Linked DNA regions of Homo sapiens: region 2 is linked to region 1. Evidence: promoter capture Hi-C in 16 types of primary human blood cells and fetal thymus (Javierre and others, 2016). All regions are on one chromosome and are shown on one strand. The core of a region is centred on a gene start or on the middle of the fragment in contact, and the rest is flanking DNA. Distances in the headings are between cores, read along the strand shown. Region 1 holds the start of FGF5 (fibroblast growth factor 5). Region 2 has its middle 31 kb from the start of BMP3.

The links. Contacts are between HindIII fragments. The CHiCAGO score rates a contact against its expected background, and 5 or more counts as called.
Region 2: a fragment that was not itself captured here is called in contact with the fragment with the promoter of FGF5 in region 1 in 1 of 17 cell types (naive CD8 T cells); the score reaches 5.1 in naive CD8 T cells.

Annotation. Positions count from the first base shown.
Region 1 is chr4:80,264,073-80,269,675 of GRCh38, reverse strand. It overlaps FGF5 (fibroblast growth factor 5), which reads right to left and starts at 3,012. Exons shown (of 3, transcript NM_004464.4): 1 at 2,497-3,012. The coding sequence starts at 2,851. RefSeq lists enhancers at 473-1,043, 2,786-3,317. The HindIII fragment of the contact is 3,016 bases long and covers 68-3,083 here.
Region 2 is chr4:81,058,779-81,064,381 of GRCh38, reverse strand. No RefSeq gene overlaps it. Among named protein-coding and RNA genes, the nearest start is that of BMP3, 31 kb to the right of the region's middle. The HindIII fragment of the contact is 2,350 bases long and covers 1,930-4,279 here.

The sequences.
Region 1 (5,603 bases), core at 1,763-4,262:
CACAGAAACTAAACTCTGAAAGGTTATTGTAAACAAGAATAAATTAGGAAAAAGTTTAAATTAAGCTTTTTGTCGGCACTGTTTTAGGAAACATCCCTGTTCTCTTGTAGATATCTTTCAACATGGATTTTAAAAGAAAATGTACATGTTACATACTGGGTAGTGGTCAATGTCTTGTTTATCTGGGTGCACTCTTTTTGATCTGCTCTTATTTTCCCCCCTTTGCTTTTCTACAACACCCCCTCTAGCAAGGCCTAAGCTGTAAAACTACCTTCGTCTCATATAGTGTCTTCGTAGAGAAGATGGTGAATATCCTGGGAATGAGCCTTGCTTTCTGAGATCTCTAGCACACCTAAACCCTCCCCAGAAGCATTCTCTGAGCTCCCTGGGCTCCAACCTGCTGCTTGCTGCCTGCTAGTTTGGGGTCCGCCCTTGAGCTCACGGAAGTTATCCTCTGTTGGTGCTCTGTCATGTACCCAGGGAGAGTGGAAACATAGCCAGGAGACAGCAGCGCGCACAGTCACCTGTCTTTCAGTGTCAGCCTGGTTGCTCCTAGATGTTCCTAACTTGCTCCATCTCAGACCAATGACTCCACGGGTCGTTACAAGAAGAACAGAAGAAAGAAAGTTTTCTTGTAAGAGAGAAGGAAAGGTTGCCGGAAGTGGGAATAAGCTGTGATGGCTGATGGAGTCAAAAGACCGTTGAGACAAAATGAGAAGGACGAATGGAAATAAATAGATGTTACTGATTATTCCTCAAATCTCAGAAAATTCCATTTCACCCCAACAGATCTTGCCCTTTATCCCCCAAATGAGCAGTTATTCGATGAGTGAAATAAACTCTAAAATATGGAAATAGATTCCTCTCGGGAGTGTGAGGGAGGCCCTGGGACTCGCTGGTGCGTGTGCGGAGGGCCCTCTCTCCAGCTGGGCGCTCCAGGCGCCCTCACCACGTGCGCCGCAGGCTGCTGAATCAGCGCGATCAGATAGACTAGACAGGCGCAGAGGGGCGGGCATAGACCTGCTTTTCTCTCAGCATGAACCATCAGGTCTTCCGCATTAGGCCCCCTTAACCCACCGGAGGAGGCTAGCCAGCCTACCGCCTTACCCACTTGCGCGCCTCCGACCCCCCTCTGGAGACTGCTGGCTGCCAAATCTTCAGACCGCCGGTGGTGTCCACGCTCCTCTGGAGCCTGTGTAAGAAGGAGCCCAATGGCCCGTGGAGTCTTTGGTCTGAGATGGAGCAAGTTAGGAACATCTAGGAGCAACCAGGCTGACACTGAAACCAGGTGACTGTGAGCGCTGCTGTCTCCTGGCTACATTTCCGGTCTCCCTGGGTACCTGACAGGCCCTGGCTGGGGCTCTGCCTGGTGGACCAACCCGCGCTGGAAGAGCGATCTGGCCCTACTGAGCAAAAGCCCCACAGAGATCTCCCCACTCCTACTCACAGCCCCAAACCGTCCCTGCCCCCAGCTGCCTAGAGGCAGTGAAGAGAAACCAGAGGAGTGGCTGCGATGGTCTGGAAACATAGATGGGGTGGAAGGGAAGAGGAGATGAGAAAGGAAAAAAGAGAGCGTGCTGAAAGAAAAAACTCAGAGGGAAAATTTAAAACTTTGTTTATAAAAAGTCCTACAAAATCTGCACCCCTACCAAATTTAACCTCTGCGTTTCTTCTAAAATAAGGAACTTTCCCCTAACTGTTCTTGGGGACCAAAGGCTGGCCACTCTCCTAATACGGTGTAGTCATGGTCTCAAGATACTAAACATTGTTAAATCCAACTCTGGAGTTAGTAATTTCAATGTTTATCATGTCTCCCTCTCTAAACGCGTCCAGTTTTCTAGAGCACAATCTTCTTCCAAGCAGGAATGTCTGTCTGGTGTCCCCTAGTTATCTATCTGTCTGTCTATCTATCTGTGTATCTATCTATCTATCTATCTATCTACCTATGTGTATACATTGTATACATAGACTTATATACATATATACATATACATATACAATATTAATTTGAGGTTTATGGTAGCGGATGGAAGAGGGAAGTATTTGGGATTTGATTCTTCTTTTCAAAAAATAACTTCAGTTATGGATAGGGAGAAGGGCTGCCTTTGATGCCTAATGAAAAATGCCAGGCTAGTTCATAAGCAGAAGGTAAACAAATTGAGTGAGAAGAAATGAGTTTTTTGTTCTCTCCTGTCATGGCTGGGGACTCGTCTTTGAGGCTAGAGCAAACTGAAAACAAGGTACCCGTCTGGGCACCAGCCTCTAGGTAACATACACCTGAGAAATCGCAATTCCTCATGCCCAGGAGAGGGGTGCGTGTGCGCACGCCATATAGATGCATCTCCACCCAACCCGCCCGGCTGTTTCTGAGTATCAGCTTGGTCCCAGTGGCCTGGGCTCAGGAAGGTGAGCCTGTGTCCCGGCGAATACCTGCTGTCCCTCCCGAATCTTCCGCGGCCGCCTAGGACGGGTTTTGTAGGAGAGCGAGTAACTTACTTAACATATTGGCTTCGTGGGATCCATTGACTTTGCCATCCGGGTAGATCTGCAGATGGAAACCGATGCCCACTCTGCAGTAGAGGCTGCCGGTCCGGCGCCCCGAGGGGCTCCACTGGAAACTGCTCTGCTCCAAGCCACTTCCTTGGCTGCCCAGAGAAGCTGCGGGGGAGGAGGAGGCAGAAGAGGAAGACATAGCGCTACTGCTGCTCTGTCTGCTGCTGGAGCCTCTAGGGTTCCTATCAGTGGCAGCGGGTCCGGGTTGCCCTTTGGGGGCGAGACGCTTCTCCCCGTGAGCCCAGGCGCTGAGGATCAGGTGGCTGAAGAAGAGGAGGAGGAGGAAGGACAAGCTCATTCTTCCAGCCGCGGGGGTCCTAAGTGCATCTTGTAGGGCTGATTCTGGGCTCTGTAGCCCCTGTGCGGCTGCGTGCCTCTGGCTCTGCCCGCCTCGCCGCACCGGGTGGACATAGCCTCGGGGAAGAGAAGGGGAGAGGGGAAGAGAGAGGCCACCCGAGCGGATCTCCGCGCTGGCACCGGGATATTTATAACGCCAGTGATCTCACTGCTCCGTGCACGCCTGCGAAGCTTCCCCTCACCCGCGGCTTTGTGTACTCACTGGCCGGTGCGGGGAGGGAGCCTCGCGGTCCCGGGGGCGGGGGATGTGAAGGAGGGAGGAGATCCGAGCGAGTGAGTGGGAGGAGAAGCTGGGCTGAGAGAACCTGCGCCCCGGACGCTGGGTGCGCCCATACCAGGGCCACGCATCCCAGCAGTTCTCTCGCGTCGCGCGGCCACCCGGATTCCCCGACTAGGACCAGAGCCGCGTGGAAACGAGCTCGGCGTTAGCAGCTGAGTCCTCCAGGGGCAGCGATAGAAACGGAGGGTTGAAATGTGGAAATGGGTCCTTGTCCTCTCCCACCTCTACAGCACACTTGTGACTGGGCAACGCACTCTTGCCCCCCAGGACACGATTTCCAGGTTCTCCTCTCTTTGCCCTGTAAACCCTGCTATCTCGTCCTCTCTCTGGGAGCCCTTGGAGAAATGCGTCCCACCAGGAGATCCCACTGCTTCTACGTCTTTCGGCGTTGGAAAACCAAACAGGGATTCGCAGCCCAACTTGGGAAGCCTTTGGTGTGGCGCGGTTCGGGGAGAAGGCTGTTTTTGCTGTTATTAGCGATTTATTAAAGAGCTAAGGAATGGGTTTATTCAGCGTTTAAAACGCCACCCTGAGTCATCATGCCACGACTGGAGCTGCTTTCTTGTTGGAAACTCTCGGCTGCGCTGAACATTATGACGAATTTGTTTTTCCTTCTGGGAAGCTCTCCGTCTGTATTCGTGAGAGTGAGGGCACACGCACCCCCGCGCTCCGACCGGGGAAAGAGAGGCAGCGGCTGGACACCAGCACATGTAACTGACCGCCCAGTTGTCCTCTTTCGCCCCAGGATCCCCGTGGCAGGAAGGGTTAGCTAACTGCTCGCTTTAGCTTACCCAGACCTGCCATTGACTGAGGGACCGACCTCAGTGAATGATTAATGACGTGCGCGCTGGATTTCAACCTCAGGAAACCCGAGAAGGGAAAATTTCCTTGAGAACAGAGAATTTCCCTGTACGGGCAACGTCCCCAGACTGTTATTTATCTGGGAAATACACCTGACTTGCATGCTTGGAATGTTTCTGTCTAAAAACATATTTGAAACTTTAAACTAAGCTATGATACATTATTCATTGGTTATTTTAATGAAACGGCCCGTGCTATTGACTGATAAGGTCAATTCAGATGAACCAAGGTTGAAGCTAAGAAACGGCCTTACCCATTATTGAGTACCTACTTAAGGTTTTCCATCTCAATAATGAAACGCATATAAAACAATGCAGATTTTTCAGGTTTGGAATCTTCCACCGCCAGAGTAACATCAAAGTACTTGTAAAACAGAAGGTTACCTGGAAAGTGTAGTAAAACCACTGTGATAAAGAAAGAGGACATCACACATAGATGTGCATAACATGGGCACACTACATGAGATACTGTCCAGAGCTGAACACACCCCCTGTCCACTGTTCTAGGCTCAAGTTATATACTTCTCCCTTAACTAGGGTGGGTAGGCAGATCCTTACAAGGCAACCCTAAAAGTAGACATTGAGAACAGTCACAGTATCTCTCAGAATGGTCTACTTGACTGAAATCACCTTCTTCTGGGGAGGATGATTGTAGGATGGTTCTGAACCTGGGTGCTGTTCCTTCTTCAGGCAATGCCCTGAGGTCTGTGGCAAAGCTGTCAGGGTTTAAGCCACATTGATGCTGCTGAATGCCATTTGTAAGTTCCCCCATGCCACGCAAATACACAGCCCATTCCTCAAGTGACGAAGATTCTCCAAAGCAAATCCAGCTGCTTGTTTCTCCCTTTCCTTTTCCCAAGGAGTCTGCTGAAAGAGGAGGAGAGTGGTTCCTGCCCCAGCTGCACTATCAGCCCCCTGTCTAAACCCAGGAGGTCAAGAGGACTCTGGAGTCCAGTTTCTGGAGCTGTTATCAGCCTCTTGTCTTTGCTCCCTTCTCTCAGTTTCTGCAGCCCCGCCTGCACTGAAACAACCATCCTTGTTTCCCTCTCAACTCCCGCAAGAGCCAAACTGGGGATCAAATCCTTGCCTAGGGATGACCCAGGAAGGCAAAGACACCTGCTCAGGCTTTAGTCTACCTCAAACTGGAGGATGGCAAGATACACTTTTCTGGATTCCAAGGGCTTAGAAAGAGTCAGGGGCTCACTAAAAGGAGACAAGTGACCAGCTGTTGTGGACAGTGATTGAATTTGGCAAACCAGTCCTCAACGCCCGACTGTCTTCCATACTGGGGTGGGAGGATTGGGGGTTGGGCGGGCAGCCGAATGTGCCCACATACTCGGGGCTTAAAAGGAAATCTCCATTGGTGATCATAAGTGTGTAGGGTGGATGCTATTAAACTTTTTTTTTCACAAGAGAGTTATGTATTGGGGCCATTAAAAAAAGCTACAAAAACTGAACAGTGAAACATGAAAGACAGCACTGCGCTTGTTCCGTGAGCTGAGCTGCCAAGCCCCCTTCCTCCGCAGCTCAGCTGAGAGACGAAAGGGTCGCGC
Region 2 (5,603 bases), core at 1,855-4,354, 790 kb before region 1:
AGTTGATGAAAAGGTTAAAATAGTTTAATACTGTTTGACCTTATCTATCTATCTATCCTTCCATCTATCATCTGTCTATCTGTCTATCTATCTATCCATCTATCTATCTATCTATCATCTACCTACCTGCATATCTACCTAGATTCTAAATGTTCAGAAAGAGCGAAAGATCAGTTTCTTGCAAAAGTGGACCTGAATGACTGAATTAGAAATAACTGTGGGCAGATTTAATGTCATCAAAATACGTTGTTTAGAATGAAAGGAAAGATGTGTTAGGAAAGCTTTCTTCATAGTGTAATGCTGGCATAAGTAGCACAGCTGTGTTTGAATGGTAATTAATATCTGTAATGTAAATCTCAGTTGAGTAAATACTGGACTGAATACCAGAAGAAATGACCTGAGGGAACTTATATGTCAGGGAGTGATTAGTATATACTCTCAAAGAAATATGAGTTATAAATTTGTAATTATTTTTCAATTTTTAGTCAGCCATGAGGACACTGAGTCCTTTAGTGCTTTTCTGACCAAGTATCTCCCTATTTGACAGTGTCTCTTATTCAGTTGAGGGAAACACAACAGGCAACATTTTTTTCTGAAGGGTCAAAATCTATCTGTTTCCTATTTATCCCTTAGTAGATCCACGCCATCCAAGAGAACTGTCTGTGGTAATGGAAATGTTTGACATCTAGCTGATCCAGTAAAGGTAACCATTAGTCACACGTGGCTATTGAGCACTTAAAATGTGATTAGTTGGACTGAGAAACTGAATTTTAAAATTTTATTCAATTTTAATTAATTTAAAGTTAAATAGCCACCTATGGCTAGTGGCTGTGGTTTAGCACAGCCTCAGATTCACACTCTCCCAACTCTTTCGTCTACTAAGGGAATTTTTCTGAGTGGTTTAATTTTTTGCTAGACCTTTAAATCTTAGGCCAAAATGAAATTCCAGTCTGCCTGTCATTCAAACTACTGAACAATTGCTTTTATTCAGAGTCTTTCCACTGTCAGCCACTGCTATTTATGTCAATTAATAGACAAATTACTATTCGGGACCTCTTGTCTCTGATGATGGTCATGGTAACACTCTTCAAATTCCCAGTGGTTCAAAGCAAACATTATTTTTTAAGTAAGAGGTTTTATAGTCCAAATAATTACTTTTCATCAATTATGAAAGTCTAGGATTTGGCTTCGTCATTTTTCCATAAATTCAGTAAACAAAAGAATTCAAAAAATACTTGATCAATAAGTAGCTTTAATCATTCCATTTTTAAAACTTTCTTTAGTTTTACTTTGTATACCAATTCAGATTTGTAGGCCATCATCTATATGTGCCTGACAACCATTCTAGAGGCTACTGAGCCTTCTCTCAAATTCGAATTTTATTCCAGAAAGCTGCAAAAGAAATAATACTAACAAAGTCCAAGATTCTTTAAGATTTTTTATGTAAGTAAAATATGACATTTTAATCTAAATCAATATACTCATGTTTAGACGATTTCTTCCTTATTCTCAAAGCTTGAGGTTATTTTCTCATAGGCAGTTCAAAAAAATGTTGCAGAGGAGTCTGCTTGCTACAAGACAGAAATCTCATTCATCTAATGTTAAATTATAGATCTCAGTTCTGTAACTAGTTCAAGTGGGATAGAATTTAAAGTCTACCCCATTACACTGTGAAAGAAGAAATGGGAACTGCTGATGACATTAGAAGCAAAGGGACTTTGAAATGCTCTCAGCCTATCCTATCACACCTGAAGCCTCTCTTTATAATATGCTGCTATTCCTTGGATGTGTTAGAAGGTGGCTTTCAAATCAAATGAAGCAGAAAGCAGAGCTCCAAGGGGCCGGTTTTGACACACACACTCCCTAGCTAGGCAGGTCATCTACCTCTGCATTACAAAATCATCTGAAGATTACTAACAGTTCCAAGCTTCCATGTATTATCACCAGCCTATGGGCACTGGCTTCCATTCAGTATTTGTCTATGTGACTGTTTCAGCTGCCAAATTTTTGATATTATACCATTAATTTTTTCATTTCTAATAAATGAGATAATTTAGTGAAATCACATATTCTAGGCCCATTTTAAAAAACCCACTTATGTTCATGTGTGTATATGTCAGTGTTTATAGTGATGGAAAATCTCCAGAAAACAGGGCTGAAGTCCTGTAAACACCAAATGTTTTCCTTAAGTGAGTTCGTTTTGGGGAATGCTCTTTCACATGATTCTTGCACATAATTGCCTCACCTCTGGACTGCTGCATTCACATCTGGCCTGAGCCCCCATGAAGTGGGGGTTGGTTTTCATTGCAACTTGGTGGTAGTTTGCCTATGTGCTGAATCTGAAAAGGTTCAGCATAATATTTTGAGCAAAGGGTTGGATCATGACCATATTTCTCTCCCTGCTTCTGTGATGTTCTAGTAGAGCTAGGCATTTCTCTCTCGGTTTCTTTCCCTTTCTTCCTCCCTCCTTCCCCCATCCCCAGTTCCCAGTTGTGAGCAGGTTGGAATGAAGGGAACATGAGGAAGAAACACCTGCTACCCGCTGATTTAACTTTTTCTAGGACATGTGTGTGTATGTGTGTGTGTATGCGGTGTGTGTGTCTGAGTATAGGGCTGGGATCAAGGGAATAAGGGGAAGAAAACACCTGCTACTCTCTGATTTAACATTTTCTGGGATTGGATTTTTTTTATTGCCCTCAAGGCAGTATTTTGATGAAACAAAAAGAAATGAGGAATAAACTCAAATCAAGTTGCCACCAACTAAAATTGAGCAGGCAGGGTAAAAATAATGCTTCTCAGGTATTCTGACCTTGTTAATTATCAACAGAGTAGCCTCCAACTGTCTTGCAAAATAGAGTTCTCTTTCTCTATGGGAGGTATCTCAAATACTCAGACAACTATGGCCTTGGACTTGAAGCAAACCAAAGATGGATTTTCTTTCCACATCCTCTGATGGACCTAGAGAAAATAGGCATGGTACACAAGGCAGGGAAATTCATACCAAAAAATGAAAATAAAACAAATCCCAACTACCTAAAATGATTACTGTATATAGTGTTTGCTTAAGTTTCATAACTTATGTTTATTTTAATTTTAAAAAGATAAGAGACAGTTCATATCACAAGATATGTTAGGCAAGTCACTTTTACCCCATTTCTCATTTTCCTCTAAAGGGCGCTCAACTTCCACCCCACTGGCTAAGAGAAAACAGTGCTGGGAGATACTTCTTGTTTTTTTCTTCCTCCTCTCATGGCTCTTCCCCATGGGAGAAGGAGCAATGATCCTACCGATGACAGGGTAAAAGCTGGTGGTTTGACCATTGGTTCATATTTTTAGTGGGGCCATGTTAAGATTTAAAGTTTAAGTCACCTGTGCTGTTGTTCTTTTGGCGTGTAGGGAAGGCCAGAATTTCCTGTTTAGTGGCATTGTGGAGATGAAGGGGAGGCTCTTATTAGTATACTACCTCTATTCTCCTTAGACAGGAACAGGAATTCCTTTGTACTCTCTGGGTGGAAACGGTGTTGAAGTAATATTTTCTGCTCTTGTCCCTATCCTTTCTCTTTAAGGGGAGAGACATATCTGATTGACGATGAGAAGAAATGGGAACTGAGAGTACACAGTTCAGCCTCACTTTGACTTTCCCTTTTTCAGAATTTATTTACTCAAAATGCACATTTTTCCATTTTCCAAAAATTCAACTCACTGAGACCATCTCTGTACCACCCGGGTTGACCTGAAATTGGGTGGGGAAGTTCAACTCAGGGGAAAGTTCTCAGATCCCAACACTAATCAAACATTACCCCATTATTAAAACTTTTTTTTGCTTTCTTTATGATGCGATAGTCTATTTTCCTCAAATTTCTCAGGACTCCAAGGAAAGATGGGTGAAATTACTCTGGCAGCTTTCTTTAAGTAGAGGCAACTGAGGTGAAGTGCAAAAGAATAGGACAATTGGGGTGAGATTATCGCTGCTGGAATCCCAGCCCTGATGCTACTAGCATGGTTCTGACCTAAGGTGTGTCAGTTATTCTCCTGGGTCAGTAAAGTGAGGATAATACGCACCAATACTTCTCAGGGTCAAATGAGGACTCATTCATGGAAGTGTATAAAATGCATTTAAAAAAATCAAAAAGCAAATTTCGAAGAATATTTACTTTGTGCTATGAACATTTATAAGTGTTTCATGTATAAAGGCTCAAGTAATTTTCACAGCCCTGTAAGGCAGGCTCTGTGTTTTGTTCTCATTTTACACATGAGGACATGGAAACAGAAAGAAGCTTAATAACTTGTCCAAGGTCCTACAGTAAGTGACAGAGTTGAGATTCTAACGTAAATTGTCTGCCTGTAAGCCTGTATCTATGAAATACAATATGCATAAAAATAAACTTTCATATACCAGAAATACACATATATAATATTTTAGTCTATTTTCTACAATTCATTTGGCTTTGTTTTTCGTTAAGGTATTAGATGCCTTAGTTATTTGTTAAAATATAGTAAGACAAATAATATCACCTACTTTTTATTATTAAAGTAAGAGGAAGAATGCTGTAAATAAAATGTAGGTATGAAAAGTAGAAGAGTCTCACAAACCCCATCACATGATAGAAGTGAGATAGAATCAACAATCTCCTAAGTTGAGGGACGGATGATCTATTACCCTGGTCCTTTCTTGTGTTCTCTCTTTCCCTTCCATCGTGACTTTTGTTGTTGCTTTTTTTCCCAAGACATGATCAGGAGAAAAATATTTATAAGTTGTGATTTAATATGGATGTTTGACTCATGGATTCTGGTATACTAGAGCAAAAAGGAATTTTTAACCACCACCTGGAGAAAATTAGGACATGTAAGAGGTGAAGGAACTTAGGAAAGTGCTCAAGCCCAGAGCTTAGCATTGCCATAGATTCTGATGTTGCTTCAAATGCAATTGAAAAAAACAAATATAACCCAAATTAAAATTTAAATATCATATTGTGAGAACATCCACTTTTTGTGAACAAAAGAGTATGAAGGGAAGGCTCACGGGGTTCTCACATTTTGTATGTTGTGGATGTAAATATATATAACTCTGTAACATTGTGCTTTTCCTATGTGAATATATTTTCATTTTACTGGTTGATATTCACTTGTTAATAGTTACATATAGCTAACTTCCAGTTCTGAGACTGCAGACAATGTAGGCATTAATGCTTTATATCATCAAGCACATCTCTACCCACTAAAATAGAGTTTTGTATGATGTGAGCAATCCTTGGTAATACTAAGTGGATGTGTGCTCAACGTTCTTATTCTTAACCTTAATTCCCACCATACCTTCTAATAGCTACAAAGATCAATTCTAAGTGGTATTTCAAGACAATCCTCTGGCATGAGAACTGAGGCAACTCTTTTGAAAGTATTCATTAGTCACAAAACTGGCTACCCTGAAAGTATGATGATTCCATCAATATTCCTCAAAGGCATACATCACTCTGCTACTAACTGAAAGAACCAGAATTCAAACTCAAGGTGGTATTATCTCAAGGAAGATGCTCTCTCCATAATGTTACAAAGAATTCTAATACCAGTTTTTCCAGTTGCTAGTCTTATGCAATTGGGCATAC